Linked DNA regions of Homo sapiens: region 1 is linked to region 2. The links are contacts of gene promoters, found by promoter capture Hi-C in blood cells and fetal thymus (Javierre and others, 2016). All regions are on one chromosome and are shown on one strand. The core of a region is centred on a gene start or on the middle of the fragment in contact, and the rest is flanking DNA. Distances in the headings are between cores, read along the strand shown. Region 1 holds the start of TOPBP1 (DNA topoisomerase II binding protein 1). Region 2 holds the start of PIK3R4 (phosphoinositide-3-kinase regulatory subunit 4).

Evidence for each region. Contacts are between HindIII fragments. The CHiCAGO score rates a contact against its expected background, and 5 or more counts as called.
Region 1: a contact is called between the fragment with the promoter of TOPBP1 here and the fragment with the promoter of PIK3R4 in region 2, in 3 of 17 cell types (total B cells, activated CD4 T cells and naive CD8 T cells). The highest score is 7.7, in total B cells.

What each region holds. Positions count from the first base shown.
Region 1 is chr3:133,659,391-133,663,190 of GRCh38, forward strand. It overlaps TOPBP1 (DNA topoisomerase II binding protein 1), which reads right to left and starts at 2,551. Exons shown (of 28, transcript NM_007027.4): 1 at 2,379-2,551; 2 at 1,654-1,744. The coding sequence starts at 1,737. LOC124909487 reads left to right here and starts at 1,836. Exons shown (of 3, transcript XM_047449438.1): 1 at 1,836-1,956; 2 at 2,123-2,643; 3 at 3,509-3,800. The coding sequence starts at 1,836. The coding sequence ends at 3,658. It also overlaps a transcript of TF not described here. RefSeq lists a silencer at 2,338-2,507 and an enhancer at 2,908-2,977. The HindIII fragment of the contact is 9,162 bases long and covers 1-2,677 here.
Region 2 is chr3:130,744,847-130,748,439 of GRCh38, forward strand. PIK3R4 (phosphoinositide-3-kinase regulatory subunit 4) reads right to left here and starts at 1,983. Exons shown (of 20, transcript NM_014602.3): 1 at 1,472-1,983; 2 at 1-418. The coding sequence starts at 372. RefSeq lists an enhancer at 1,664-1,723 and a silencer at 2,958-3,007. The HindIII fragment of the contact is 4,673 bases long and covers 885-3,593 here.

The DNA of each region.
Region 1 (3,800 bases), core at 1,301-3,800, 2.9 Mb after region 2:
AAACCTAATGTCTTCACACCACACCCAGAATAAAATCCACATTTCTTACTACAGCCTTCAAGACAACACAGTCTGGTTTCCTGCCTATCTTTCCACCTTTACCTCCTACTTCTCATCTCTCTTGCTTATTCTATTCCAGCCACTCCCGCTTTCTTGCCAACCCTGGAACAAGCCAACCATAACCTCATTTAGAGGCTCTGCTCTTGATCTTGCAGCACAGAATACTTTTTTTCCAGGTTTTCACCTGACTTAATCCCCCACTTCAATCAGGTCTGCTTAAATGTCACCTCCCCAGAGATGCCCATCCTAATCAGGCTTTCTCAAATACCCTTCCTCTACCCTTCTAGTCTATTCTATTTAAAAATACGTATTTATATATATATATATAGTTTTTGTCTCTCTCCCCTGGAAGTTTCTATGTATCTTGTTTGCTACTATATCCTGACACCCAGTAAGCACTCAGAAATGTTCTGAACCAATTTTGAGGTCCTTATGTTAAATACAGTAATCCCTTTAAAACTGTAAGTCAGATCATGTTTACTCTTCTGATTATCAACCCTCCAATGGCTCTCCACTGAGAGAAAAATGGCCCACAAGGCCCTACATGACCTCTTTACCATTATTCTCTAACGCATTCCTTAGTACTCTTCCCCCATCCCTCACTCACTACACAACAGTACACTAAACTTGGATAGAGACTACAGGCACTTTCCCAGGGGCTGTATAAGGTTGCTCTCTCTGCCTGCAACATTCTTCTCCAGATATCTGCAAGGCTATCTCACCTCCTTCACGTTTACTCAATATCTTTTTCTTCATAAAGCCTACCCTGATCACACCCTATTTAAGATTATAACCCCCTTCTCTTCCCACCCCAAGAAACATCCTCTGGAACCCCTTAACGTGTTTTGCTTTTTTCTCTTCCTAATTTATCATGTCTGATTAGTGTCTATGTCCTCCTGCTAGAATGTAAGCTCTGAAAGAACAGAAATCTTTGCCTGTTCTCATCACTGATAAATCCCAAGTACTAGAGAAGTGCCTATCAAATCATGAACACTTCAATAAATACTTGCTGAATGAATGAAGTTTAAAAAAATCTGCTACAAATGCTTCTCAAACTTTAATGCACACTGAAGATCTTGTTAGAAATGCAGATTCTAAGTCTGGGTTGGAGGCCAAGATTCTGCATTTCGAAGAAACTTCCAGGCCATGCTGATACTGCTGGGTTCTGTGAGAAGCAAGGATCTACATCACCCCTACTATCATCCAATTATTATACTGTACATAATAAAACATAATTTTTAACAATTAACCAAAAAATTTTCAAGTATGACCAGTACACAACTGACTCAAATTTCTACAGCACGCAAAGGACCACTCTGGCTAGGAGACAAATGAAAGCAACTTAATTTCCAAGAACTGTAGGTCAGCCATATTAAACAGCAATGTGATAATAGACTTCCAGCCCCCCGAAATACATAATGATGTACTTAGATCAATTCAAAAATATGTGATAATGATATATCTGTATTAATGTAGACTATAAAATTATTATGAAAGTGAAATATCTACTTCTAAGACATAAAGCCCAACAAATCAAAAACACTTAAAAACAAGAAAATGAATTCACGGTATTAAGATGTTTTCAACTCTTACCTCGAGAGCTTTAAAAAAACATTTGGAATTGTCTGAAGACTTTAAAAACTTCACAAAAAACGGTTCTTTGTCATTTCTGGACATTTCTGAACTGTCAAAATAAAGGAACCATTAACAAGAACAAAACCACATTAGATAAAAAGTTGCATGTTTAACCTACCTATTTTTCTGTGCAGACAAGAATGCCTAAAGACAGACATTCTGGCTCTGCCCGTGAATTCGTCAACGGCATTTCTAAGAAATCCTGGAACTTGGACAAAGCCAAGGTAAAAGATGACAACACCAATCCTTGCAAATCAGACAGCAAAATTAACCCGAATTGAATACACTGAGGAAGGCCCTGCTATGAAGGCTCTAAGCCCTTTAGGCCAATGGACATTCAATTGCACTTGTTTTAAGGATACACAGAGTGTATCTGTCCCTGCGGATACCCACGGCCTGCGAGGTACGTTCATCCCTCAGTAAACAGATTTTAAATATAAACATGGAAGCCAGTTAGCATGGTCTTGGCCCTGCATAAGGCTAGATGCTCCGGTTCCCATCTCCAGGAAAAGGCCTGGCTCTGGGATCACGGAAGCCACGTCCTCTCGGCGTCAAAGGCCCACCCGCCGGCTCCAGGGCCAGTTACCAGGACAGGAAAAGAGGGTCCTGAAGGCCACAGAAGGCATCGCGAACCCCAGTTGGGGCTGGGGAGGAGCTGTGTCCCCACTCCGCGCCTCACTTACCTCGTTGGAGCCTCGGGGTCTCCGGGCGGCGAGTCGGGGGACGCGCTGGCCGCAGGGCGGTGGCTGGGGTCGGGCGCCAGCCCGGCGCACAGCCCCCTCCCCCGACTCGGCGCCGCCCCTACCCCAAAGCAAACGCTGGAGAACCCGGAAATTGCCCAGAACGGGAACCGACTTTCGCGCCAACCGCGCGGCCGCGCTTGCCTTTTCCGGTGGAAGTGACGCCATCGGCAGCTGCAGCAGAAGAGCGGAAATGTCAAACGTGGAGGTGAGCAGTCTGTGGGCGGTGGGGCTTCAGGGAAAGCTTGGGCCGGACCCTTTGGGTTTAGGGCTTTGCTGGGCGGGCCTAGTCTCCGCTGCGAGTAGGCCCAGCGCCGTCGGTTCAAGAGGTAGGACCACAGGCCAGGAATACTCCTTTACTGTTAAAAAAGCCAGGGAAAGAAAGGATTTCCTCAATAGATATTTATTTTACACCTGTCTTATACCAGGCATGCACGGGAAAAGGTATTATCCAAAACAATTCCGTGAGGCAAATAGTGGTAGTTCCATTTTGTAGATGTAAAAACGGAGGAAGTTAAATGATGGGTTCAAGGGCACACGGCTAGTAGGTGGTAGAATTAATACTGCATCCAGGTCTTCTGACTACGGACTGGGTGGTTTCCCTCCAACACAGCAGGAATAGAATCACCGCCTAACACAGCCACAAGATGGCAAGGGAAGAAAGGATGACTTATTACACAGCTAATGCAAAGGGATCTTTGTCAAGATCTTCAATGGTCTCCCCTCCTCCTCCCCTTCAGTGGACATCGCCGTTCTCTTTCTCTGCATCTGCCTCAGTACTGGGGAGATTCTGGGACTGAACCTAAGATTCAGATGGCAGAGAGCAAAGGGAGAGGGGATAAGATGGGCCTGCAAACCTTAGTGATAACCAGCGGAAAACTGATTCGTTGTTGCTTCTTTTCATTTTATTCTTTTTTAAAAAAATTTTTTCTTATTTTATAAAATCTAGCCACTATACTAATGAGGATCATTTTATTATTCACTGCTGAGATTGAGAAAATGACTTTGGATTTACTAATGTAAAAGTATAATGCCATGTCCCTTGATTGTTTTTGTTTTTCTTTTCTTTTTAGAGCCTAAAGATAGTAATGAGCAGCTTGAGTCTTAAGTTTTTGAATACACCGATGGAAGGTGACAAAGATTCTTTGCTTGGCCAAACTTTAGTCAGACTCCTCAACCTTCTCGTAGGTTTATCTGTGCATTTCCTTGGAAAATCCAGTTAGAACCCTCTACCCTCAATATCTGATCAGGTTCCTCATCCTCTACCATCCAAGGTGATGTCTGATCACCTTGACCTATTTTCAGCAAGAAACCCCTTTACTCCTGAAGTTCCTTCTTAGTAATTTTTTATCCAGTGACCCCAAG
Region 2 (3,593 bases), core at 733-3,232:
CTCAATGTTATTCAAGAATGGACGGGTACTGATGCGATCATAGAGATTGTCTCGCACATACTGCCTAAAGAGCATAGCTGCTTTCTCAGATGCTTTTTCTGATGCTTTCTGGAAAGGTAGACAATTCTGTGCAGAATTAAGCCTGATTTTCAGTTCCTCCAGCTCTTGTTTATAGCTGGTTAAAGGCAATGTGGGATCCTGAATTGCAAAAACCTTCACAACGACCAGGCCTTCTCGGTGCTTGGCTCGAGCAACTTTAAAAAACCGAGTACTCCCCAGGCTTTTATCATATTCAAAGTCATGAATATCTGAAAAATAACTCTCTACAGAAAGGATCTGGGAGGGAGCAATGCCAGCAAGCTGATTTCCCATAATGGCAAGCACCTCTGTGGTCTTTAGTAAGGTTAGGATATAATACCTGTTTAAAATAAAAACAAATGAAGAAAAAAGACAAGAAACAAAGAAGCTGTGAAACACCATTATTCCATTATTTGGTCTCTTCCAAAAAGACAGATGCAGCATACTTCTCTTCCACTAACAGCACTGTACCTAGCCTTCTGGGGCAGCCTCTAAATTTCACACACATTTATCTAAAAAGACCATGTTATTTTCTCCAAGAAGACCTTGTTATTTTACCTAAAAATACCCTGCTATTGCGCATCGCCATTTCCAGGAGCTGAACTATATTTAGATAGGCCTCTTCAACTTTAAGCCAAAAATGTTAGTTTGTGTTATTTTCTCATATTTAAATTTAAAATATTAATGAGCCTTTACTATGTGTTCCGTGCTGTGCTTGGGGCTATGAGAATTACAAAGTTACCATATGACATAGTTCTTGTCCAAGAATCTGTAGTTTCTTGGAAATAAGAAAGAGACACATTAAAAGCTTAAAACTGGCCGGGCGCGGTGGCTCACGCCTGTAATCCCAGCACTTCGGGAGGCCGAGGCGGGAGGATCACGAGGTCAGGAGCTCAAGACGGGGCTGGCCAACATGGTTAAAATCCCGTCTCTACTAAAAATACAAAAATTAGCCGGGCGTGGTAGTGGGTGCCTGTAATCCCAGCTACTCGTGAGGCTGACGCAGAATTGCTTGAACCCAGGACGCAGAGGTTGCAGTGAGTGGAGATCCCGCCACCGCACTCCAGCCTGGGTGACAGAGCGAGACTCCGTCCGTCTCAAAAAATAAAAAAAAAAAAAGAAAAACTGAAAACTGAAAAGGTCAAACTAAGATCTAAAAATTCAGTTAACTCCTGGACACTTCCTGCCTAATTCCAGTGTGCCCTCTCACCCAGCTAAAAGAAGGTGCAAACTTCGCTGGTCTGCAACAAGAAACCTTGCCACAGATGTTAAAGAAAAGCAGACCAAAGTATACACTAGCTAAACGTACCCCAGGGTTCTGCTAACTCAGGTTTTGCAGGAAATAAATGCCACACATATACACACACGACCTTGAGCACACATAAACATTTACCCTAGGCCTCGGGAAAGTGTCAAAATCGTTCAGAGGCTCACAACGAGGTCATAGTAGACTACTTCGGGGACGGGACGGGAAAACGCGTCAGCAGCGGGGAAGTTGTTTCTACGAAGGGTCTTTCTTCATAGACAGGAGATGGGCTGTTGGTGGAGGGGCGCAGAAAAGTCCCGATCTTCAGGAACCCCGGTGGTCCTGGGAGGAGAACTGGGAAAGCTCTCGGGGTCTCAGCAGAGAGAAGAAGCCACGCTAAAGAGTCTCCACAAGTACCCCGGGATTTGACCCCTCCAGCCCCCTAACCTGCCCTGGGGGACATGCGTTCCCGGGCCTCGTCTTCCTCTAGCGCGGATCGCTACACCCGTCCGAGCCCTCCTCGAGGGCCTCACCACCGGGCGGGGGGAGATGGAACCCGGGAGAGAAGTGCAGACCGCCAGTCCCAAGAAAACACTACACTTCAGCTGCTGCAGCCCCAGCAAACGCCGAACTCCCGGGAAAGCAACCGGTCTGACCTCACTTCCTGTCGCCGAGCGGAAGTGACGAAAAAGAGTGAGCCTTGAGGAATTGCCAGGGTAGGAAACCGGTTGCTAGGAAACTAGGGAAGGCGTGGTCTTACTTTGGGCGAGTCTACAGGGAGAAAATGATGCTCTGACAAAGATCTATTCCCCTTCCTGCTCTTCTACCTTTCATTCACGAACGCTGAGGTTTCTGACATCCCCTAGAATCTGCTCAGACACGCCTTCACTCCCAGGACAGCAGAACAGAGTTAAGAGAACTCAAGAATATTTAGGAAAACTAATATATCCCAAGCTGGATTTTTAGAGTTCTGGTGAGATATAACTTACATACCATAAAGTTCACCTGCTTAAAATGTACAAAGCAGTAGTTTTTAATACATCTATCGAGTTGTGCAATCATCCCTATAATCTGATTTTAATTTTTTTTTTTTTTTTTTTTTTTTTTTTTTTTTTTTTTTTTTTTTTTGAGGCTGAGTCTCGTTCTGTCGCCCAGGCTGGAGTGCAGTGGAGCGATCTCGGCTTACTGCAACCTCCACCTCCCGGGTTCAAGCGATTCTCCTGCCTCAGCCTCCCGAGTAGCTGAGACTACAGGCGCCCGCCACCACGCCCGGCTAATTTTTTTGTATTTTTAGTAGAGGCGGGGTTTCACCGTGTTAGCCAGGTTGGTCTCGATCTCCTGACCTCGTGATCCGCCTGCCTCAGCCTCCCAAAGTGTTGGGATTACAGGCGTGAGCCGCCGCGCCCGGCCTTTTTTTTTTTCTTTTGGAGACAGTCTGGCTCTGTCACCCAGGCTGGAATGCAGTGGTGCCATCTCGGCTTACTGCAAACTCCACCTCCCGGGTTCAAGCGATTCTCATGCCTCTGCCTCCAGAGTAGCTGGGACCACAGGCACGTGCCACCACGCCCAGCTAGGTTTTTGTTTTTTTTTTTTTTGAGACGGAGTCTCGCTCTTGTCGCCCAGGCTGGAGTGCAGTGGCGCGATCTCGGCTCACTGCAAGCTCCGCCTCCCGGGTTCACGCCATTCTTCTGCCTCAGCCTCCCGAGTAGCTAGGACTATAGGCGCCCGCCACCGCGCCGGGCTAATTTTTTGTATTTTTTTTTTAGTAGAGACGGGGTTTCGCCGTGGTCTCGATCTCCTGACCTCGTGATCCACCCGGCCTCTCAAAGTGCTGGGATTACAGGCGTGAGCCACCGCGCCCGGCCGCTAGTTTTTGTATTGTTTGTAGAGATGGGGTTTCACCATGTTGGCCAGGATGGTCTGGATCTCCTGACCTCAAGTGATCCGCCGCCTCGACCTCCCAAAGTGCTGGGATTACAGGTATGAGCCACCGCGCCCAGCCTGCCTGATTTTAAACATTTTCATTACCCCAAAAGGAAACCCTGAAACCATTCGGAGTCACTCCCTGTTCTCCCCCATTTCTCCTCCCCCTTCCAGCCCTAGGCAATCATTAATCTACTTTCTGTTTGTATACACTTGCCTTTTCTGGACATTTTATATATAATATGTGGTCTTTGTGACTGACTTTCACTTTGGGTAATGTTTTTGAGGATTATCCCTATTGTAGCTTGTATTAGTACTTCATTTATTTGTTGTTGCAAATAATTTT